Regions from separate parts of the Homo sapiens genome. Here regions 1, 2, 3, 5 and 6 are each linked to region 4. Evidence: promoter capture Hi-C in 16 types of primary human blood cells and fetal thymus (Javierre and others, 2016). All regions are on one chromosome and are shown on one strand. The core of a region is centred on a gene start or on the middle of the fragment in contact, and the rest is flanking DNA. Distances in the headings are between cores, read along the strand shown.

The links. The method cuts DNA at HindIII sites, captures the fragments that hold promoters and counts their contacts. A CHiCAGO score of 5 or more calls a contact.
Region 1: the fragment with the promoter of ENSA here is called in contact with the fragment with the promoter of H2BC21 in region 4 in 1 of 17 cell types (fetal thymus); the score reaches 6.9 in fetal thymus.
Region 2: a contact is called between the fragment with the promoter of TARS2 here and the fragment with the promoter of H2BC21 in region 4, in 1 of 17 cell types (non-activated CD4 T cells). The highest score is 5.6, in non-activated CD4 T cells.
Region 3: a contact is called between a fragment that was not itself captured here and the fragment with the promoter of H2BC21 in region 4, in 1 of 17 cell types (non-activated CD4 T cells). The highest score is 5.5, in non-activated CD4 T cells.
Region 5: a contact is called between a fragment that was not itself captured here and the fragment with the promoter of H2BC21 in region 4, in 4 of 17 cell types (M0 macrophages, monocytes, M2 macrophages and 1 more). The highest score is 11.1, in M0 macrophages.
Region 6: a fragment that was not itself captured here is called in contact with the fragment with the promoter of H2BC21 in region 4 in 6 of 17 cell types (naive CD8 T cells, total CD4 T cells, activated CD4 T cells and 3 more); the score reaches 12.1 in naive CD8 T cells.

The regions. Positions count from the first base shown.
Region 1 is chr1:150,628,198-150,631,990 of GRCh38, forward strand. ENSA (endosulfine alpha) reads right to left here and starts at 1,415. Exons shown (of 4, transcript NM_004436.4): 1 at 1,217-1,415. The coding sequence starts at 1,273. It overlaps LOC112268239 (a long non-coding RNA gene), which reads left to right and starts at 1,622. Exons shown (of 2, transcript XR_007066603.1): 1 at 1,622-2,305. RefSeq lists enhancers at 1,130-1,399, 1,142-2,109, 2,110-3,079. The HindIII fragment of the contact is 4,295 bases long and covers 1-1,745 here.
Region 2 is chr1:150,484,809-150,488,677 of GRCh38, forward strand. TARS2 (threonyl-tRNA synthetase 2, mitochondrial) reads left to right here and starts at 2,611. Exons shown (of 18, transcript NM_025150.5): 1 at 2,611-2,708; 2 at 3,050-3,246. The coding sequence starts at 2,643. LOC124904416 (a long non-coding RNA gene) reads left to right here. Exons shown (of 2, transcript XR_007066600.1): 2 at 237-546. RefSeq lists enhancers at 2,436-2,942, 2,436-2,705. The HindIII fragment of the contact is 2,845 bases long and covers 751-3,595 here.
Region 3 is chr1:150,572,385-150,575,949 of GRCh38, forward strand. It overlaps MCL1 (MCL1 apoptosis regulator, BCL2 family member), which reads right to left. Exons shown (of 3, transcript NM_021960.5): 3 at 2,174-3,565. It overlaps ADAMTSL4-AS1 (ADAMTSL4 antisense RNA 1), which reads right to left and starts at 2,168. Exons shown (of 4, transcript NR_104133.1): 1 at 1,740-2,168; 2 at 1,275-1,437. The HindIII fragment of the contact is 2,255 bases long and covers 718-2,972 here.
Region 4 is chr1:149,884,169-149,888,002 of GRCh38, forward strand. It overlaps H2BC21 (H2B clustered histone 21), which reads right to left and starts at 2,514. Exons shown (of 1, transcript NM_003528.3): 1 at 291-2,514. The coding sequence starts at 2,472. The coding sequence ends at 2,092. It overlaps H2AC20 (H2A clustered histone 20), which reads left to right and starts at 2,750. Exons shown (of 1, transcript NM_003517.3): 1 at 2,750-3,243. The coding sequence starts at 2,807. The coding sequence ends at 3,196. H2AC21 (H2A clustered histone 21) reads right to left here and starts at 3,797. Exons shown (of 1, transcript NM_175065.3): 1 at 3,301-3,797. The coding sequence starts at 3,748. The coding sequence ends at 3,356. RefSeq lists enhancers at 1,117-1,710, 1,488-1,567, 1,978-2,067, 2,138-2,427, 2,748-2,817 and 4 more. The HindIII fragment of the contact is 10,069 bases long and covers 1-2,716 here.
Region 5 is chr1:149,351,087-149,355,070 of GRCh38, forward strand. It overlaps the pseudogene SEC22B2P. Among named protein-coding and RNA genes, the nearest start is that of NOTCH2NLC, 38 kb to the right of the region's middle. The HindIII fragment of the contact is 7,809 bases long and covers 1-3,984 here.
Region 6 is chr1:149,161,785-149,165,587 of GRCh38, forward strand. LOC124904581 reads left to right here. Exons shown (of 4, transcript XM_047439510.1): 3 at 958-1,559; 4 at 2,103-2,397. The coding sequence ends at 2,214. It also overlaps the pseudogene RNVU1-24. Among named protein-coding and RNA genes, the nearest start is that of NBPF9, 60 kb to the left of the region's middle. The HindIII fragment of the contact is 3,009 bases long and covers 123-3,131 here.

The DNA of each region.
Region 1 (3,793 bases), core at 165-2,664, 740 kb after region 4:
ACACGACAAAGCAGTTCCTTCTTTATTCAAGGTCTAAGCCACCTGTTAGGTCTCCCTGTGGAGGCGGCTAGCTATGTGGCCTTCTCCAAAGATCTCCACCTGAGTAATGGCACAGCCTTGCTTCAACATTTCCACAAATATTATGGTAGCAAGCTGATAAACAGAGAGGAAAATGATACTGTTTTTAACCTCAGGAAAACAAAGATACAGTAGGCTCACTAGTATTTACCCACCAGTTTTCATCAAAAAAATCAATACCTACCCTGGTGGTGCAGGGACTCTCACTACTGTAGTCAATCTCTTTTTTTTTTTTTTGTGGTCCCTGCTGCCCTTTAGTGACTTTTTGAAAAGATATGAAGTCAACGTATGACTCTTTTTAGTGGAATTATATTCCTTTCTCTTGGAAATTACGCATAGATATAACACCAAGTGTATTTAATGAGTACCTGAACCCAGTACTAAATTTTAAAAGTCAAATACAAACCCCAATAAGGGGTTTATTTGGCGTTAGTGTTTCCATCACGGAATCGCAGGTGCACTAAGTCCCTGCCTTGGAAGTCTAGGGGAAGAGAGAAGTGTCTTTCTCACGACCCTGTCGGCGTCTTTTCCAAGTTTAATTACCATGATTCTGTTTGGAACTCTAGCCCTCTTCAATATTGCTGGGTCCTCACTGAAGGTGAGCAATAGACCATCCTTAGCTACTAAAATAGGTCTCTTGAGAAAGTTGCCGCCTTAAACTAGCCATTATAATAACTACACTTCTCCCCTCCCCCAATACTGGTTTTTTTTTAAACGTCTTTACCTCGACCCCTATCTTTGCGGATTGAGGCTGCGGGCCCCAGCCCGGTTGCTGGGTCACTTACCTCTACAAACCAATAACACACATCACACCCAAGACCACCAGCCATCCCCTTTCCATTCACCGTCTTTCCAACCACCCGCCCCACGTCCATGCTCGGCCAATTATAGCACAGCGTCCAAGGTTTGAGCGGTAGGCCTATTGGCCAATCAGGAAGAGTACAGTACTGAGTGACAAACGACCCAACTAACCAGCGCCAAAGCAGCATGTCGTGTTGAAGCTCACCCAGCGTGACGCAAAAAGTGGCCAACCCCTGCGGAGCCTGAGACCATGGCGACCAATCCGCACTGGTGGGAGACCGTCTCCCGCCCCATCACGGTCTCCCCAGCTCGCCCGCCCGCACCCCTTCCACTTCACCTGCTTCTCCTCGCCGGTCTCCTCCGCAGGGTTCTCTTCTTCTTGTTTCTGGGACATGGCGGGACCGGGACTGTGGAGTGTAAGGGGCCCGGGAAGGCAACCGGAGAAGGGAAGGGGGAGGGGAAACGGGGACAACCTGCGCTGCTGCTTCGGCTCCTGTCACTAGGGTTGCTCAGTCAAAATGGCGGCCCTTGCCCGTGACGTTGCGACCGCCCCTTCCTATGAGAGCCAGTGGGAGTGAGGTAGATAGGGCAATGACGTAACGATCTACCAATAGTCGCCGTCTAAAGGTGGGCTCTATAGAGGCGACCGGCAAGCTGGAACACCAACCTGGAAAGAGAGTGAGCCACAAGGACCAATTGGAAGCCTGTGGGGGATATCGGGGGCGGGGCTGCTGGCTGTGGTACTTTTGCAGCTTTGGTGGGCTCCGGCTTCCTTCACTCCAGCCCACCGCGTCCGAGAGACTTAGCAGGGCGTCAAACTGGAGAGCGGAAGGATGGAACCTTTTATTCTCAGGTGGAGAGGATTAAGCTTTGCGGTGTTAGCAGAAAATGATCGAGCTCCAGAAAATGATTTGGAGGTCAGATTCGATTTTAAAGTAGTACTAACAGGCCGGGCGCGGTGCCTCACGCCTGTAATCCTAGCACTTTGGGAGGCCGAGGTGGGCGGATCACCTGAGGTTAGGAGTTCGAGACCAGCCTGACCAACATGGTGAAACCCCGTCTCTACTAAAAATACAAATATTAGCCGGGCGTGGTGGCGGGCGTTTGTAATCCCAATTACTTGGGAGGCTGAGGCAGGAGAATCGCTTGAACCCTGCAGGCGGAGGTTGCAGTGAGCCGAAATCGCGCCACTGCACTCCAGCCTGGGTGACAGGACGAGACTTTGTCGCGAAAAATAAAATAAAACGGTACCAATGGTATTACGATGTGTCACTTGGCCTGTGGAAGAGAGAGACTGAGTCTCAACCCGAGCTGTCTTGCAAAACACTAATGGCTTACGTTCCGTAGTTTCACTCTTATGTGTAGTTTTTATATTCCATCAGGGTGATCCCTTGGGGACTACGCTCCTTGAAACAAGGAGGACAGTGTAAGTATGTGGTAAACATTTGGTAAATACGGTTAATACTAGTTAACCTATCCAGAATTACAGTTTAACATTTCCTGGGCGTCTGTCTGTATGTGGATGGTACTGTGTTAGTTGGGGGGGGTACGTGTATAGTAAGGCAGTCTCTGCCCTTAGAAAGCTTACAGGCCTGGCTGGGCGCGGTGACTCACGCCTGTAATGCCAGCACTCTGGGAGGCGTAGGCGGGCGAATCACTTGAGGTCAGGAGTTCGAAACCAGCCTGGCCAACATGGTGAAACCCTGTCTCTACTAGAAATACAAAACAAGGCTGGGCACGGTGGCCCACGCATGTAATCCCAGCACCTTGGGAGGCCGATGAGGGTGGATCATGATGTCAGGCGATAGAAACCATCCTGGTCAACATGGAGAAACCCCGTCTCTACTAAAAATACAAAAATTAGCCAGGCGTGGTGGCGTGCACCTGTAGTCCCAGCTACTCAGGAGCCTGAGGCAGGAGAATCGCTTTTACCTGGGAGGCGGAGGTTGCAGTGAACCGAGATCGCATCTCGCCACTGAACTCCAGCCTGGGTGACAGTGAGAGTCCGTCTCAAAAAAAAAAAAAAAAAAAGAGTGGCAGATAAGAAGTGCTCTTTATGGAGATAATTTGGTGGTAATGAATAAAAAGACTCAGAATTCCAAGCAGAAAACTACCAGAGATGAACAGTCTAGCCGAGTCCTCTGCAAACGTTAGGTGGGAGATAATTAGGATTTAACCTAGAAACGTAGTAGTTAAGAATAGAAAATAGTGAACCTAACCAAGAGAGTCTGTGACAATGGAATCCACTAGACTAGCAGCTGACTGAATAGAGAATGAGAAGACTGTGTGCCTCAAGGTGATTATTTATAGAAACAATAAATTCAAGAAGAGGAGTCAATTTGGGAATGGAGCTGAAAAGCAGAGAGAAAATAAGGCATTCAGTTTTGAAAACATGGACTTTTTTTTTTTTTTTTTTTTTTTTTTGAGACGGAGTCTCGCTCTGTCACCCAGGCTGTAGTGCAGTAGCACAATCTCAGTTCCCTACAACCTCTGCCTCGCGGGTTAAAGTGATTCTCCTGCCTCAGCCTCCCGACTACAGGTGTGCGCCACCATGCCCGGCTGATTTTTGTATTTTTAGTAGAGACAGGGTTTCGCCATGTTGGCCAGGCTGGTCTCAAACTCCTGAACTCAGGTGACCTGCCTGCCTCGGCCTCCCAAATGCTGGGATTACGGGCGTGAACCACCGTGCCCGGCCTGAAAACATGGACTTTATTAAAAGCGAATGAACCATTTGGTGGAGACATCCAGGCAATGAAGACTTAGGATAAATGACCTCTAAGATCTCCATATCTGAAATTTAAGGGTTCTAGGAAATGTAAGTGTGGGAGTTTGGGAGAAAAGTAGACGCTGAAGATGTACAAATTTTGGACTTTTTCACATAAATGTAAGTAAAGTTGTGGAAGTTGATGGGATC
Region 2 (3,869 bases), core at 1,361-3,860, 600 kb after region 4:
GAGCATCAAATCAATACCGTGATTGGTACATACTTGATTCAATAATTATTGGGCACCTACCATTTTGTTGCCTGCAATACACCTTTCCCCTTTTGGTGCAGAGGCATGAGAAGAATTCTGCCTGTTGCCACCCTTTCTGAATGCCATTTAAAAATTCTTAACTACCTTCTCCAAACCACACACACACAAGTTATCTTCCTCTCCCACACTCTTGTCTCTTTCTCTTTGTATTTCAGGGTGTCTACCAGAAGATGGACCCAAGATCCATGGAGGCTCCTGTGACTCAGATCAACTGCCCTGCCCGGGAAACCTGGTCTCTCCGGAAACCTTGATTAAACTGCTTTTTCTGACACCTCTTCCTCTACAACCCTTGATTCTATCACCATTGAAACTTCAGAACCAACTCTAACCATCCCCACCTCCAGGTGAGGGGACTAATGAGAATTACTGACAGCCTGATGGCTACCCCCAAGTCAGTTTCCCTTCATACTTTACTACAAATCTGACCATGTTCCCATATTTACTGAGTAAATTTGATGAAATTTACCTAGTCCTGTGTCCTAGATGTATCAGGGAGAGGGAAGAGAAAGGATAAAGGAAGTTGAGAGCTGGGATAGGAATTAGAGGCAAAGGGCTTATGTAGGGAGCAGAGAGCTAAAATTCTAGTCAGGCACCTCTTTCTGAGGTGATGGGGGAGTATACTGGGAGCAAACTCTTCTAGAGAAAGCATGGTGTGGTAAAAGAAAACCAAGCTTGGATTCAGAAATCACCATCAGCACTTGCTGTTTGACCTTAAATTCCTCATCTGTCAGATTAAAAGGTCTCGGCCGGGCATGGTGGCTCACGCCTGTAATCCCAGCACTTTGGGAGGCTGAGGCAGGCGGATCACCTGATGCTGGGAGTTCGGGACCAGCCTGACCAACATGGAGAAACCCTGTCTCTACTAAAAATACAAAATTAGCTGGGCCTGGGGTGGCACATGCCTGTAATCCCAGCTACTCGGGAGGCTGAGGCAGGAGAAGCGCTTGAACCTGGGGAGGCGGAGGTTGCGGTAAGCCGAGATCACGCCACTGCACTCCAGCCTGGGCAACAAGAGTGAAACTCCATCTCAAAAAAAAAAAAAAAAGATTAAAAGGTCTATAAAGTCCCTATTAAGCACCATGAGTATAAAGGGACTCAAACTGACCTCTGCAGATTCTTGATTCCAGCTTTTTTGTTTTTGTTTTGTTTTGAGATGAAGTCTCGCTCTTGTCCCCCAGGCTGGAGTGCATGGCGTGATCTCGGCTCACTGCAACCTCCACCTCCCGGGTTCAAGCGATTCTCCTGTCTCAGCCTCCCAAGTAGCTGGGATTACAGGCGCCCACCACCATGCCCAGCTAATTTTTGTATTTTTAGTAGAGACGGGGTTTCACCATGTTGGCCAGGCTGGTCTAGAACTCCTGACCTCAGGTGATCCACCCGCCTCGGCCTCCCAAGTAGCTGGGATTACAGGCGCCCACCACCACGCCCAGCTAATTTTTGTATTTTTAGTAGAGACGGGGTTTCACCATGTTGGCCAGGCTGGTCTAGAACTCCTGACCTCAGGTGATCCACCTGCCTCGGCCTCCCAAAGTGCTGGGATTACAGCGTGAGCCACTGCGCGCGGCCATCTTTGCTCCAGCTTTAAAGTGGTTACTCCAGAGGCTGAGGTGGTCAGTTGAGCCCAGGAGGTCGAGACTGCAGTGAGCCATGATTGTACCCCTGCACTCCAGCCTGGGCAACGGTGAGACCTTGTCTCAAAATTAAAAAATAAAACTGTTACAGTCATTTATCATAATAGCTTCTTGTTGCTTTTGCCCATTACCAAAAAACCATGGGCCACACTAGACGATTTACATAAAATTTAACTCAACAATTGGGAGCAACACTATTCTCATTTTATAGTTGAGAAAATTGAGGCTTAGAGAAATTAAATAGGTCAGGCAAGGCGGCTCATGCCTGTAATTCCAGAACTCTGGGAGGCCGGAGCGCGGTGGCGGTTTGGTGGGGGGGAGGGGAGGGATTGCTTGAGGCCAGGAGTTCGAGACTACCCTGGCCAACATAGTGAGACCCGCCCCCCCCTCCCGCCCCCCCCGGTCTCTATTAAATAAATATGAGAAGTTTAATAATTTTCCCAAAATTACATAGTTAATGGCAGATCCAGAATTTACACTAGGTCTGTCTGGTTCCCCAGTCTATGCTCTTAAGTTTTGCTACTTGCTGTAAGGACCACGTAAAATAAAATGTATAGTTAAAGGGAAATTACTACCATTTCCTGTCTGGTTTTCTCCCACTCTCGCCCTCAAAAGTTCACCTGCCCTTGTCCTCAAAGCCACAGGACGCCTAATTGCTATTTTTGGGTTTCAGCTGAAACGCCACGGGTCTGGGGGAATAGCGAGGGTGTGTTACATTTTCGGTCTTCCGGTCAGCCGGAACCACTCACACCGCTGCTGGTGCTGTGTAGGGTGTACCTCTTCGGAGTTCCTGGAGGTGGTGCCAGACTAGAGTGGCAGCTGTAGTAACCAATAGACACGGACTTTGTTGGACCAGAAGCCAATGAAGAATTACGTGGAGGAGAAGCGGCGATAATCTGTTTGAGGATGTAGGCACTGGTGTGAAGGAACATGGCCCTGTATCAGAGGTGGCGGTGTCTCCGGCTCCAAGGTTTACAGGCTTGCAGGCTACACACGGTGCGTGAGGCACCCCCAAAGCTCCGATCCGCATCAGACTTAGCCCAGCCGAAGCCCCCAAATTTTTATGTTAACCCAGCCTCACGCCACTCCTCCTCTCCCTGGTCCTCCGAGTCCCCAGAAAAGGACTCGTATCTAAACTCGTTATCTAATTCTCGAGTTAGCGGTCTGGGGGACTCTGAGCTCGAAGGACCCCCAGCCTAGGGTCTTGTATCACCCAATCCCCTTAAAAAGTAGGAATTCGGACGAAGTCCACTTAACCATCCCAAAGTGCCATCATCTGCAATTCTAAGAAAGAATGATGGGACGTGTGTTACCTGCTAATATATCTTTCCCTCCAGGCAGTTGTGTCGACCCCTCCACGCTGGTTGGCAGAGCGGCTTGGCCTTTTTGAGGAGCTGTGGGCTGCTCAGGTAAAGAGATTAGCAAGCATGGCACAGAAGGAACCCCGGACTATTAAGATATCACTTCCTGGAGGCCAGAAAATTGATGCTGTGGCATGGAACACAACCCCCTACCAACTAGCCCGGCAGATCAGGTAACAGGCCCATCCTGTAACTACCAGGATTATCCTTCTGCCCCTTTACTTTCTCTTCACTTGAGCAGGGGAAGAAAACTTGGTCTGCTTGTTTCTGTTCCGTCCCCATTAAGATAGCCTTTCCTGAAGATTTTGTTTTTGTTTTTTGTTGTTGTTCTTTTATACAGACGGGGTCTCTCCATGTTGCCCAGGCTAGTCTTGAACTCCTGGGCTCAAGCGATCCTTCCATCTCAGCCTCCCGAAGTGCTGGGATTACAGGCATGAGCCACCAAACCCGGCCTGAGATTTGTTTTATCTGTATTAGTTTCTGCATCAGAGTCTCTGTCCTTTCATTGGGGAAAGAAATGAAAGCTTCTGTTGCTCTGGTAACTCATTTCACCTTTGCAAGTTTACAGTTGCTGAGAGATGAGCAACTTTCTCCCCACTGTGGATTGTAACCCTGTCTGTTTTAAATCATTAATTTACTTTTTAATAATTGATACATAATAATTGAACATATGAATGGGTATATGTGATATTTTGATATATGCATACAATATGTAATGATCAAATCAGGGTGTTCAGGATATCTGTTACCCCAAACATTTATCATTTCTTTGTGTTGGGACTATTTCAAATCTTCT
Region 3 (3,565 bases), core at 595-3,094, 690 kb after region 4:
ATCCCTCCACCTTGGCCTCCCAAAGTGCTGGGATTACAGGTGTGAGTCACCGTGCCTTTTTTTTTTTTTTTTTTTTGAGACAGCGTCTGGCTCTGTCGCCCAGGCCCCGGAGTGCAATGGCATGATCTCAGCTCACTGCAACCTCCGCCTCCCGGGTTCGAGCGATTCTCCTGCCTCAGCCTCCCAAAGTGCTGGGATTACAGGCCTGAGCCACAGCGCCCGACCCGGAGAGCTGTTTCTTAATCTGCCTGGAGGAAAATCCCCAGCCCCCAACTTTCCACATACTTCACATAGATAACACTGTAACAACTTTGAAACTAAGAGGGAGAGAATTAAGTTTTCAAATTTGAAATTGAGAAGCCTTTGAAGAGTGGCAGCGTTCTAGAAAGTTCCATGATTGAACAAGTGAAGCAAAAAACTAGGATAGACTCAACTGACCATCTGAACTCCAGGAATTAATAGCCAGTGCTTTGGGCATCTGGCTGGAGCCATGGTACGCACCAGTTGTACAAGTTATTTCATTTTAATTTTGTAAAAAAAAAAAAAAAAATCCTTCGGCTGTCACAACTGTTTTAAATAAAAATTTTGTGAAAAAACAGTATGAAGACGTTGCTCTAGATACAGAACAGGAACTGAGAAAGTCTGGTTGTGTCAAATAAAGCAAAGTGTTGATAATTCTGACTACTGATTAAGGTTACCCAGTTACTATTAAATCCAAGCTTTTAAGGTGCTGAGCAAAGGAACACTGTACCAGAAACGGCTTCACATCATAGCACGTCAATGGGAGCAATAGCACTAACTTAACTCAGGCCAAGACTTGGGCTTGGGTCCTCTGTGGCTGCTACTCTCCTACCACACCTTTGCTTGGGAGTGCACTTACACAGCTTTCTTTGTAATGATACAAAAAGTTGCTGCCTTTTGGTAGTTAGGCTCCAGAAAGGGGCTTCCAAACCAAAATGCACTTTTAAATAGAAATGCAACTGACTGCAGGGAGGCACAGAATCCTGATTGCCTGATTAGCATATGGTGCTCAGGGCTTAAAACCAAGTATGCAAACCTCACATTTGCACATTTCCATGGTGATTCAGCTCACTTTCAAGGTAGCTGAAAATAAAAGCAGGATAGGGGTTTTTGAAATTGACTGGCTTCTTTTTACCTCCTTTTGGAAAGCAGAAGGGGAAAAGCACTGCTGCCAAGAACTTCATCAAAACTCTTTAACTTTAGGTATTATTTAGGTGTTATGATAGAGTAACTGCTGTACAGTACCCTCTTACCTCAAGATCAAGGCTGGGCGCAGTGGCTCAGGTCTGTAATCGCAGCACTTCGGCTGAGGCGAGTGGATCACTGAGGTCAGGACTTCAAGACCAGCCTGACCAACACGGCAAAACCCCGTCTCTACCAAAAATAGAAAAATTAGCCGGGCATGGTGGCGGGCACCTGTAATCCCAGCTACTCGGGAGGCTGAGGTTGCAGTGAGCCGAGATTGCCCCACTGCACTCTAGCCTGGGCAAAAGAGTGAGACTGTGCCTCAAAACAAAACAAAACAAAACATACCAACACCTGGTGATTCAAAAAAATCAAGACAGAGGCTGGGTGCGATGGCTCACGCCTGTAATCCTGGCACTCTGGGAGGCAGAGGTGGGCAGATCACCTGAGGTCGGGAGTTCAAGACCAGCCTGACCAACACGGAGAAACCCCATCTCTACTAAAAATACAAAATTATCTGGGTGTGGTGGCGCATGCCTGTATTCCCAGCTACTCAGGAGGCTGAGGCAGGAGAATCATTTGAACCTGGGAGGCGGAGGTTGCGGTGAGCGGAGATCGTGCCATTGCACTCCAGCCTGGACAACAAGAGCAAAACTCCATCTCAAAAAAAAAATAATAAATAAATAAATCAAGACAGAAATTTTGATTTTAAAGAGGTTTTTGATTTTACTTGGAGGTTTAAGAACTCCTCTAAGTACAGCAGTAATATATTTAATTAAAAACCCAACACCTCTAATTAGAATTGAAGAAAGGAACTGTCCTTTGCTCTAAGGCAAATCAACTTTGTGAGGCTTTTGCTTTGAATTCACCTGTACATATTTGCTCAGCTGACTTCTCTAAAAGGTTTGCCTAAGAGAGGGAAGGAAAAAGAGGCGTCGATGAGAAAAGACCCATATCACACCCTGTATTTGAATAAAAGATTTATTTTTTTTTCTCAGGAAAAACAGAAAGTTAGGGAAACACACTACATTTGACAACCAACATTAATTTGTAGTTGGTCCTAACCCTTCCTGGCACAGCTATCAAAAGTACAGCTGTTTAACCAGAACCAAGGTGTTCACCCCCCACAGAATGTACATGAAACACTAGAGGACTGCATGTTTTTCCCTGAGAGAAGCGTAAGACAAACAGAAGTCAAAAAGTAGTCACTGGGAGCGCCATCCTTCTAAGCAAATCCTCCCTTTCCCTTTTGGAGGATTTGCCCGAACTACGTAGCCAGTCAGCACTTAGACCACCTGCCTCCTCCTCCCCCTATAAACCCACCACTCCCCTCCTCCTTTCCCAAACCACTTGGGGTGTCCTAAGCCCTCACTGCCCCAAGCCCAAAATATCAACTAAGATCCTTGTCTGTATTTCCACAGTCATACCTAATGAATTGGGAAGTGGGGCCCCTAAAAACCAATTCACATCTATGCACTTGTTTCCACTGGATTTGGCAGACAGGCTTTTTTAGTTACCGTAACCAGATCTTAAGATTAATTAAAAACTACATAAAGTGCTTTTAGGTCCTTAGAGATACATGATATAAATAAGCGGCTTATGATCAAGAACGATAAATACATAGGTAAAAATAGCTCTAGCAAAGATGACCTTATGGCTCTGAGATGGGCAGGCAGGGCAGTTCTTCCCCATTACATTCTTAGTCATCTTATTCATACCTATTTTTAAATGGAGTCCACAGACTAAAGGTCATGTTCCGAGACTGAAGCTTTCAAATGACCCTAGTTCCAATATAGACACTTTCTTCAGTTTATCAGTAGCTTTTAAACTCTGAGGTTTAACACAGCTCACCTCTTTCTGTAAATTTAAGTGAGCATACTCCTATACAAAGGAAACTTTAGAGAAAGCCTCATAAAATGTTCTTTCCTCTGAAAATTCCTGAGGGGACTTTTGACACATTGCCCCCAAAGACAGGATAAAACAATAGTTGAAAAGATACCAGTCCAAGGAAAAGGGACTTCCTCCCACCTCTCAATGACTGTTAGTGTCACAGCACCCATGGTATTACCACCTGCTAACAGGATCAAGTTCGTGAAAGATGAAAGGTCTGTGGACTCTTGGTGGGGAGGGAGGGTCACTCAGGTTTCCAGCAGGGGTTTCACAGTGCCAAAATCTAAAAGGGCTAGAAAGAGTTCAGGGATGGCAGGGGAAAGCTGTAGGAATTGATATAAATATCTGTAGAGGGAGCAGAACAATCAGCAATTTCAAGGAAGGACAGGAAATAAAAGGTTAAGTCTGATAGAACAAACATCAAGACTGAAATCCAAAGATGCCAATGCAAAAACTTGCAACAAGGTTT
Region 4 (3,834 bases), core at 1,264-3,763:
CTCCGTAGGTGTTAGCTTAACTTTATTATGAACTTTATTTCTTCCATCTTATTTGTACTGCTGTCTATTTGTGATCATATATTTTTCAATTACTAAGCATTAACAGTGGCCTTGTAACAGACTATTTCAGCCCCAGTGCACCTTTGGGGCAGCAGTTTGGCTGGTGGCTTATAAATAGTCATCCCCCAGATCAGAGGCACCCACGCTTTTCTACAGACACAGTGGAAGTTGTATCTGTTAATTTCATTCATTGAGAAAATACACTGTAGATAAAAGAATCCAGCAAAGCCTTTAAATTAATTGGTAACTTTATTAATAACAATAGCATCTATACACATTTGAAAACACACATGTAGGAGACAGTTAAGATCTATTCAGTCTGTGATAATGTCTAGAGCTCATTTGGATTCATCAAACCCCTGCCATCAGCTCCAAAAGCCCTTAGCCAAAAACAGCTGAATCACTCATCAAACCATCAGTGTCTTCCTCGGCAGAATCAAGGGTTGGACAGAAAGAGTAAATATTCTGCACCTCCACAAAATAAAACTAAAATGCAATTGTCCTGCATCTGAGAATACAAGGGTGGACAGTATGAGCTGCATGACTGTGAACCAATGAGGCTTCTCTTGGCCTCATTTGTAAAAAGGAGATTAACTCTGTAGTCCCGCCTATATTGCATGGCCTCCAGAAAAGCAAATGAGGTGGTAAGTGTAAATTAAAAGCTCCTCTCCTTTAAGAGGGGAACACCATGAGGGGAGAGTAAGAAAAGGAGAAGGAAAAGGCTCTTTCCAGTGACCAACACGCTGAATTTGATGAAAATCCATAAGAGGTTATGCTAAACTGAGAAGCATAAGGGTGGATCTACCATTGCCACCTCCTCTTTGTAGCAAAAAAAATCTTAACACGGCCCCCTCCCAGCTGTTGCACTGAGGTGACTAAGGATACATTTTGAGGAAGTAGCTCCAAGAACATTTCCATTTTCACTGTGCCTTCACATACATCTAATGGAAATGAACAGCACCCTTCATCCATCCACGGAAGCGATTAAGAAAAGGGTGGGATGGAAAAATTAACCCAACAATATTAGATCAATACGTAGTATTTAAGTGTCCATAATGTGCCAGGCTGAAGATGCACGGGAAAACCACACTAGCCGGTCTGTCAAGGGCTTGAGAATACCATAAACAAGAAAACAGACGAACCAATTTCAGACAGCTGCTAGAAGGAAGATAAAATGAGACAGGCAAGTATGAGAGGCGCGAATTCCTGAGTGGATGACGTAGGTCTCTGAGAGGTGACTTTTGAGCCCGTATCTACATGGTAAGTGCCTCGCAGTGACCTGGGGCCGTAGCGTTACCATTTAAAGCACAGACCATTAAATGCAGAAATTATCAACAAAATGAGAAATAGGAATTTCAAAGTCTCAAAGTGAACGACGGAAACTGAAATCTACAAATTAGAAAAAGGCGCAGAATTTTGAATATTCTTGTCGCCCAATCAGGACAAGGCTGGGACCCGGCTGCGCGGCCTTCGTCCAAAATACACAGAACGGCTGGTATCCACAGGAGGCCCCATCGCACGGCAGAACTGGTGACCGGACACAAAAGCTGCTGCCAAGCGTCAGTCATACAGAGCTGTCACGCAGTGTTTGCGGAACCCGGGCTGAATTGTGTCCTGGAGTTCTCTTAAATGACAGCCGAACTCAGCCACTTCGTTTTAGAATGAAACAGACCCAAGGAGCCACCAGGGCGCGTGTGGGGCGGGAGTGGGGGCGGGTAAAGAGGCGGATTCCCAACAGCCTAATTGAGAACCGACTCCTGGGAAGGCTAAGCAGCACAATGAGTAAAGACACGCTCTAGATTCAAAAGCAAATCCAATGACGCACTGGGGACCTCGAGTTCCAAATAGTTAAAAAGCTACGTATGCCATTTCCCATGACCTTCACACTAAAATAACTTACTTTATGAAAAGAAACTAAGGGAATAAGTGAACAAGCTCTTTTCTAGTGATTAGGTGGGTGGCTCTGAAAAGAGCCTTTGGAGTCAAGCAGCCGGCGACTCGAGCGAGCGAGCGCCAGGTCCCGGCAGGGACTCACTTGGAGCTGGTGTACTTGGTGACCGCCTTGGTGCCCTCGGACACGGCGTGCTTGGCCAGCTCGCCGGGCAGCAGCAGGCGCACGGCCGTCTGGATCTCGCGGGATGTGATGGTGGAGCGCTTGTTGTAGTGCGCCAGGCGGGAAGCCTCTCCCGCGATGCGCTCGAAGATGTCGTTGACGAAGGAGTTCATGATGCCCATGGCCTTGGACGAGATGCCGGTGTCGGGGTGGACCTGCTTCAGCACCTTGTACACGTAGATGGAGTAGCTCTCTTTGCGGCTGCGCTTGCGCTTCTTGCCGTCTTTCTTCTGGGCTTTGGTGACGGCTTTCTTGGAGCCCTTTTTAGGGGCCGGAGCGGATTTTGCCGGTTCAGGCATGGTAAGACACAGTACAAACGCGGCTTAGCCAAGAAAAGAAGTAAGAGAATGGGCGGGCCTGATTCTTTTATAACCACCTTATGCAAATTAGGGCTCCGAAAGTCGTTCATTTCCATTGGTCCGTGTGCGGACCTTGCGTTTTCAGCAATGCGTACGTAACAACACCGACTCTTGACTTGATTGGCCGGTTCTGAAGCCATATTAGGACCAATGAAAAACTCGTTCTTGACCCCACCCCTAGGAAAGCTTATAAAGGCTTTCCTCTTGGTTCTCTTTCAATCTTATTTTGTTGCGAGGTTCTGAGCGTTGTCTGTGTTTAACCTTGATTTCAGTCATGTCTGGTCGTGGCAAACAAGGAGGCAAGGCCCGCGCCAAGGCCAAGTCGCGCTCGTCCCGCGCTGGCCTCCAGTTCCCGGTAGGGCGAGTGCACCGCTTGCTGCGCAAAGGCAACTACGCGGAGCGGGTGGGGGCCGGCGCGCCCGTCTACATGGCGGCGGTCCTCGAGTACCTGACCGCCGAGATCCTGGAGCTGGCGGGCAACGCGGCTCGGGACAACAAGAAGACGCGCATCATCCCTCGTCACCTCCAGCTGGCCATCCGCAACGACGAGGAACTGAACAAGCTGCTGGGCAAAGTCACCATCGCCCAGGGCGGCGTTTTGCCTAACATCCAGGCCGTTCTGTTACCAAAGAAAACCGAAAGCCACAAAGCCAAAAGCAAATAAATGCAGACAAACAAACCAAGACCAAAGGCTCTTTTTAGAGCCACCCAAGTTTTCAAAAAAAGAGCTAATGCGCTATTTCGTGATCAGCCCTTCATTTGACACTTTGGTGGCTCTTAAAAGAGCCTTTGGGGTGAATGAGTATGGTGTCAAGCCTCTTAATTACTTGTTCTTGCCAGGCTTGTGACTCTCCGTTTTCTTGGGCAACAGGACAGCCTGGATATTGGGCAAGACGCCGCCCTGGGCAATGGTGACACCCCCGAGTAACTTGTTGAGCTCTTCGTCATTCCTCACGGCTAGTTGCAGATGGCGAGGGATGATGCGCGTCTTCTTGTTGTCCCGAGCCGCGTTGCCCGCCAGCTCCAGAATTTCCGCGGTCAGGTACTCGAGGACCGCCGCCAGGTACACCGGGGCGCCTGCCCCGACCCGCTCCGCGTAGTTGCCTTTGCGCAGCAAGCGGTGCACTCGCCCCACCGGGAACTGGAGACCAGCGCGGGACGAGCGCGACTTGGCCTTAGCGCGGGCCTTGCCTCCCTGCTTTCCGCGTCCTGACATTACGGCTAAAATTGCAGTTACAGCTTCTTTTACAAGGAGAAGAATGTGGAAAGAATAACCAATTTGATGTAATTTATAAGAGCTAC
Region 5 (3,984 bases), core at 493-2,992, 530 kb before region 4:
GATTCCAAGGATTTGCGGTTTTAAATTGACTCTCGTTTAGCCAGCCTCAAAGTATTTAGGCTAGATTTTTAAAAAAGTTTGCATGGTACAGAGATTCTGCTTTAAACTGTTGTCAGTGCTATTACTTTACAGACAACTTTGTCTTGCTTTTTATGTCTCACCAGCTACATTATTGAGCAGGGGGTGTGTGATTTGGTTTTATGTGAAGCTGCCTTCCCTAAGACGTTGGCTTTTGCCTACCTAGAAGATTTGCACTCAGAATTTGATGAACAGCATGGAAAGAAGGTGCCCACTGTGTCCCGACCCTATTCCTTTATTGAATTTGGTAAGTTTTTGCCCCTCACTTCTCTCTATCAAGGGAGCAAACAATATGGAGAAGCTATTTGTTACACTGATATAATATTTATACATTTTTTCTGATGTTTACTTGCTGAAGTTTTAGCTTCTGCTTCCTTTTCCATTCCACTTCTTTTTGTCTTTTTGAGTGACTAAGGCTTTGTTCTGAAAAGTAATTTTCTCTAGTCTTTTGATCTTTCCTCCATAGAAATTGTTGCCTTTTGCCCTTTCTGTTATTTGGTTTGATTCTTCTTTAGAGTCACATGTGACAGGAACTTTGCTAAAGATCTACTTGATTGGCATATAATGGCTGAGTTCTTCTTTACCCCAGTCCACAGACTCACACTCACAATAAGGCTCATTTTATGGAGATCAGAATTGGGAAATCAGAAAGAATGATGTTTTGTTTCTTTTAGTAGAATAAGATCCTCTAATTAAAAAAACAAAACAGAACAAAGAAATAGAAGATACCTGGTACTCATGGTATTGGGGTATAATATTTACTACATTCAGGAATGGTGAGCATAGGTGTCTGTATTTGTACAAGAATTATAGAAAGACCAATTACTAATCAGACCTGGTAAAGTATCTGATGGTAAGGGATCAAAGGAAATGTCCTAAGTACAGTAAGTACAGGGAGTGAGAACAAGTAGGATCAGGCTATATCGCTGCAATTTTTAGTTAAAAGAGAAATTGGTTTTACTGGCTTAGAATTTTTGAAGTGTTTCAAGTTTGCTAGATAAATGGGTCATCTTGCTTTGGAAAAACACTCTAGTGTTTCATAACTATATACTCTCCAAGTGCTGCTTTATATAATGTCCAGTTTTTCAAATTTTATTTTTATAGACAGTAATACTCCCATAAACCTCCCTCAAAAAGAAGACAAATGTATCAGGGTCATACAGGAAACAGATGGCACACCCAAATTAGCTTAAGGGATTATATACAAAGATATGACTAGGCTGTAGGAGAATTACAAGGTACAGTAACCTCTGACCAGTAGCATACTGGTTGTTACCATCCCTAGGCCTGAATGTATAAGGGGGAGGAGCAGTTTCTGAAACTGAAAAGGAGAAAATTTCTAGAGAAGGCCAACTTGAGAGGAGCGTAACTTTTGGTAGAGGGATACTTCCAGAAGAAGGTTATTTCCTTCTCTGAAAGAAGCCAGGGGAATAAATACCCGGACATCACTCACTGTCTGTTCTCCTTCTTCCCTACTGTTGGGGCTTCTTCATTGCCTGAACCTAACTGGCACAGAGCAAGGAGTCTATTGAGGCGCTTCATCCAAGTCAGCTTCCCAGTGCAGAAAGCAAGGTGCAGGAGGGCAGAGAGGAGATCTAAAGAGGCAAATGAAAGGGGTACAGCACACTTAAATTAAGATTTTTGCCAAATGTTGAAAATATCTTTAATAATAAGTCGTTCTTCCTATAGTTTTGAGAAATACTGATATGAGCAAAAGATGGATGAGACTTCAGTTTTTATTTATTTATTTATTTATTTACTTAGAGACAGAGTCTCGCTCTATTGCCCAGGCTGGGGTGCAGTGGCATGATTTTGGCTAACTGCAACCTCTGCCTCCTAGGTTCAAGTGATTCTTGTGCCTCAGCCTCCTGAATAGCTGGGACTAGAGGTGCACGCTGCCATGACCAGCTAGCTAATTTCGGTAATTTTGGTAGAGATGGGAGTTTTGCCTTGTTGGCCAGGCTGGTCTCGAATTCCTGGCCTCAAGTGATCCACCCATCTTGGCCTCCCAAAATGCTGGGATTTATACGTGTGAGACACAGTACCTGGCCGAGACTTCAGTTCAGTTTTATATTGGTATTTTGGAAAACTCCCTATTACATACTTGCTTTACCTGAGGTTTAAGAATGGAATGAAACTGGGAATGTATATTAGAGAAAATAAGGTAAAGTTTCTCAGCTTTTTAATGATCATGAGCCCTTTTGCCATGTTAGGCTGTAATAATGCTAGAGTGTTACCAGCATCCTTTTAAGGAATGTGTAGAGGTAAGTAACACTTAGCCTAAGGGTCCTCAGAATACTGTTTGAAAATTTCTGTTTTCAGGAAAGGCTTACTATAGTGGGTCTTAATTTCTCTAAGGATTCTGATAGCAGCCTTAGATAGCAAATACTTCTAATTTAAAGGTATTCAAAGGACATTTCTCCTGAATGGTCGTCTAATTATACCTTTACATCTTACAAATGAAATAATCAAAGCCTAGATTTTGATATTCAACCAAGAGTTTGGTTAACCATGGACAGTGGCAAATCCAGGAATAAAGACAGAACTGTTTTGGTTTTTTTGTTTTTGTTTTTGAGACAGAGTCTTGCTCTGTCACCCAGGCTAAAGTGTGGTGGTGTGATCTCAGCTCAGTGCAACCTCTGCCTCCCAAGTTCAAGTGATTCTCCTGGCTCAGCCTCCTGAGTAGCTGGGATTATAGGCGTGTGCCGCCACGCCTGGCTAACTTTTTATATTTTTAGTAGAGACGGGGTTTCACTGTGTTAGCCAGGATGGTCTCGATTTCCTGACCTCATGATTCACCTGCCTTGGCCTCCCAAAGTGCTGGGATTACAGGTGTGAGCCACCGTGCCTGGCCAACTCAGAACTTTTAATTTCCTACCTCAGTACTTTGATGGCCATGAAAGAAATGGTCAGTTTTCTTCATCATTCTAGATACTTTCATTCAGAAAACCAAGAAGCTCTACATTGACAGTTGTGCTCGAAGAAACCTAGGCTCCATCAACACTGAATTGCAAGATGTGCAGAGGATCATGGTGGCCAATATCGAAGAAGTGTTACAACGAGGAGAAGCACTCTCAGGTATCTAAAAGCAATGAGTCTTATGAAGAAATGGTTCTCATTCCATAGACAAGGATAGCTTATTTTGCAGTGCCTTTTATGCTATTAGATTCTACCTAGAACTGTTAAGAATTTATCTCCCAGAAGTACATTACATTACAATGCTTCCAATATATTTTTTTTCCTAGCATGATTAGTTTTTGTTGAGTTGGAACAGTGTAAAGGACTCATCCATATTAGAAGCAATGATTATTTCTAAGATATTCACAAAATTAATTAAATTATATAACTTGTATAAATTAAGGGAAATGAATGAGAGAAAACTCAACAATGTATTGCAGTGGTTTTTTGAGTAGCCTCTTTGGGAGACTTTACTGCTGCCAGATCAATCTTTATAAAATGCCATTTTCATCAAAGCATTCCTCTCTGAAAAACTTTTAAATCTGGGACTACAAGATAAGATCCAGTCTGACTTATTTTTCCGTCAGTCAGCCATTGTTATTGAGAGCTTGTTATTTGTAAGGCGTTGTGCTCTACATATGGAAAATAAGGAAGATGCAAATGTCTGTCATTCTCTAGTTCACAAACATTCTTCTGTAGCCACACCAGCTTCTTTACTATCCTTAGTGGTCCTTAGAACAGAATACTGCCTTATGCTGGACCTGTTCTGTATGTAAGACCTCCATAAGAACTGTCTCTTTAAAGAACCTTTCTCTGATCCTTATAGCCTGTATCACATTAATCTCTTCTGTCCTTTAAACTCCTAAAGCACTTAGTAACATAATGGTTTTAGCACATATTACATGTATGTGTGTTTACCTAATTTACCTTAAATATATTTATTAAATA
Region 6 (3,803 bases), core at 377-2,876, 720 kb before region 4:
ATCTGGATTATCATCCTTCAGTTTGGATAAGACAGACAATATTGATGGGTTGGGGTACTTTGTCAAAGAATGTAAAGAAAGATAATGTGAAGAAAGGCAATTTTGTGATTAAAAAGGAAGCTTTATTCTTAGATTTGTTAATAAGTGTCTCTTACTGAATTATTTGCTTATTAGGCAAAACAGTGATATCATTGAATCATTCTAAAATTCCTTCCCTTTTATGTCTTGAGGTTATGAACACATGTAAGGCACCTCACCTGGCATCTGACAAACTCAACGAGACAATGAATGAACCAGAATAAATAATCATCTATTTTTTTTTCTCCCTGAACATTTCTACAGTTGAGACAGTCTTAGAATTTCTCTCTTGCATGCCAGGATATTAGACTGTTGAAATTGAATTCTTTTTTTTTTTTTTTTTTTTTTTGAGACGGAGTCTCGCTCTGTCCCCCAGGCTAGAGTGCAGTGGTGTGATCTCGGCTCACTGCAACCTCCGCCTCCAAGGTTCACGCCATTCTCCTGCCTCAGCTTCCGGAGTAACTGGGACTACAGGCACCCGCCACGACACCTAACTAATTTTTTTGTATTTTTTAGTAGAGACGGGGTTTCACCGTGTTAGCCACGATGGTCTTGATCTCCTGACCTCGTGATCCGCCTGCCTCGGCCTCCCAAAGTGCTGGAATTACAGGTGTCAACCACCGCGCCCGGCTGAAATTGAATTTCTTTCTTTTCACCAGCTCGAATTTCTTCTTCTCATGTAAGGTCATCTTACATAAGTGAGACTCCTTTGTTCCCTTTCCCTTAATAACAAGCCTACACGGAGGTGAAGGTGGTGAACGCACCTCTTCTCATCTCAAAACATCCACGTGCTCTTCCATTTTTTTCTAACAAAGAAGGGAGAGGAGGTGACATGAAAACACACCACGGATATTGTTCAGCATTTGTAAAAGCTGAAAGTATCACTTGGTAGACAAACTGCTTTTTGCACTACAACCTCCAGAAGAAAGCGCGAACGCAATTCCCCACCACCACAAATTACAGTCCAGTTTCCCCACATGTGGAAGTAACAGGAGTCAGTCAGCACATACTGAGTACAATGGAGAAATCGCCCCCGAGAAACATCAACTTCATGGCCGTATTTTCTCCTGTTACGTAAGTACGAATGAACGCACCTCCGCCCTGCCACAGCTCCATACGCCTCACCCCTTACACGCACGGTCACTTGCCCCGCGCATTCCCCCACCCCGCCCCCATGCCGCCTCAAGTCCTCCTAGCCCTGACACACAGCTGGGACTATCACGTCCAACCGGAGGTCCTGGACTAGCTCCCACAGCACGAGAAATCTTTCGTGGCGAAGCAGCAGCCCCTGAGCTGCCTCCTCTGCATAGGAATCGCCCTATCTGTGATGTCACCGACAGCGCCTTTCCCGTCCCCGTCTGCTCTTCCGCCCCACCCTCTGCCACTCGGCCGACCAACCAGCTGCGGGAGCGGGCGGAGGAAGTGACACCTGACTCTACCTCCTTTCCCTCCCATCCCCGTCCCTGGTCTCTCCCAAAGAAGTAGGTTCTTAGCCTGTGATGCAAAGGACCCCTTTGGCGGCCAGCTGGAGCCTGTGCGCTTTTCTTCAAATAATGGCTTTTAAAGCTCAGACTAGAAAGTTTAGGATTACAAAGAAAAACGGTTTTCACATACGGTTATCCTTGTGATGTAGCATTTCGCTTGACATTTGGAAGTCGTTCAATATCAGAGAGAAACCGTATCTATGAAACTAGAGAGGCTGCTCAGATGACTGCAAACCAGCCATCCTTACTTGTTTTATCACTAGGAGTATTATAAAGACGGTCGTCCAGTTTCATGAATCTTGTAGGGTTTTTTTCAGATACAGCAATGTACAAAAATGTGCTGCCCCAGCAGAGCACACTGGACACTCAGGCATGGTGCTGGAGTTTGTCATCTCTTCACTGCCTTCTCTAGACCTTAGCGCTTACCTCATGTTAACACTTTATATGCTGCGAAGACAGAAACACAGTCATCCAAATTTGGCAAAAATATTTGGGAGAAGTTTTATTTCAGGTGTTTAACTGATTACTTTTAATATGTAGACTACAACACCAAACTCTGAGAATACTCCACAGACTTATTAATGGTTTCCACCCCCGTCTCTGCAAATCTATCAGGCAAGTTTTTCCTGCCCTTTACTTTCATATAAGCTGAGTCACAGTCTGTAGTGGGTTTTGGGGGGAGTGTTACTGCCCAACAGGTACACCCTGCCTGCTGCCTAGACAGAGCCAATTTTTCGACACAGGGGAATTGCAATAAAGAGCTGCACTCTTTATTTGGTGATTGGGGGCCGGTGAATTGAGAGTTCTGCTTGGCCAGGTCGGAGATGAAATCACAGGGAGCTGAAGCTGTGGTCTTGTGCTGGGTCAGTTCCTGCTTGGGGGCCACAAGACCAGCTGAGCCAGGTTATCAGTCTAGCTGGTGCCAGCTGATCCACTGAGTGCAGGGTCGGCAAAATATCTCAAGCACTGATCTTAGGTTTTCCAATAACGATGTGATCTCCAGGAACAATTTGGGGAGGTTTAGAATCTTGCAGCCAGAGGCTACATGACTCCTAAACCATAATTTCTAATCTCGTGGCTAATTTGTTAGTCCGGCAAAGGCAGTCTAGTCCCCAGGCAGGAAGGGGGTTTGCTTCCGGACAGGGATATTATCATCTTTGTTTCACAGCTAAACCATAAACTAATTTCCTCCCAAAGTTATTTCGGCCTGTGCCCAGCAATCAACAAGGACAGCTTGTACGTTAGAAGCAAGATGGAATCAGTTAGATCAGATCTCTTTCACTGTGGTAATTGTCCCAGTTGTAATTTTTGCAAAGGCGGTTGCAGAAGCAGAGGCATAGGTCTGACTTCTTTCACTCAGTCCTATGTCTATGAATTTTTCATGTTATTCATATGGTTATTTGGTTCTACGTGTATTCCTTTGTAGGAATATACATTAACTTATGTATTTATTCTACTGTTGTTGAACATGTTGACCTAAAAGAAGGAGGCTGAAGCACAAAATATAATTTAGAGTTTACTTGAGTCAACATGAAGACAACTGCCTGGAAGACTCACACCAAGGAAGCTTGGATCTGAGCTCCCTTTGGTCTTTGTCACAAGCAGGTTTTTATTTTTTATTTTTTATTTTTTATTTATTTATTTATTTTGAGACGGAGTCTCACTCTGTCGCCCAGGCTGGAGTGCAGTGGCGCGAACTCTGCTCCGCCTCCCGGGTTCTCGCCATTCTCCTGCCTCAGCCTCCCTAGTAGCTGGGATTACAGGCACCCGCCACCACGCCCAGCTAATTTTTTTTGTATTTTTTTAATAGAGACGGGGTTTCACCGTGTTAGCCAGGATGGTCTCGATCTCCTGACCTCATGATCCGCCTGCCTCGGCCTCCCAAAGTGCTGGGATTACAAGCGTGAGCCACCGCACCCTGCCCACAAGCAGGTTTTTAAAGTTCAAAAGCAGGGACAGACAGTGGGCTGATAGGTGCCTATCAGGAATTCTCATTGGTTTACAGAAATAACATTGCTTGGTGATTGGCTATATGTTGTTAAGTTATAGGGTATGGGGGTATAGGGATTGGTGTGGCATTATTAGGTTAATTTACAGCTACTTGAGGCAATAGCAAGCAGTTTCAACGGATGAATACATAGCTCAGCGCAGCTCAAAAGGAAGGAGCGGAAAGTGGTTGCTGTCTCGATTTAACGTCTCTCTGGGCCTGATCATTTGAAAGGGCTCACATTCCTCAGATAA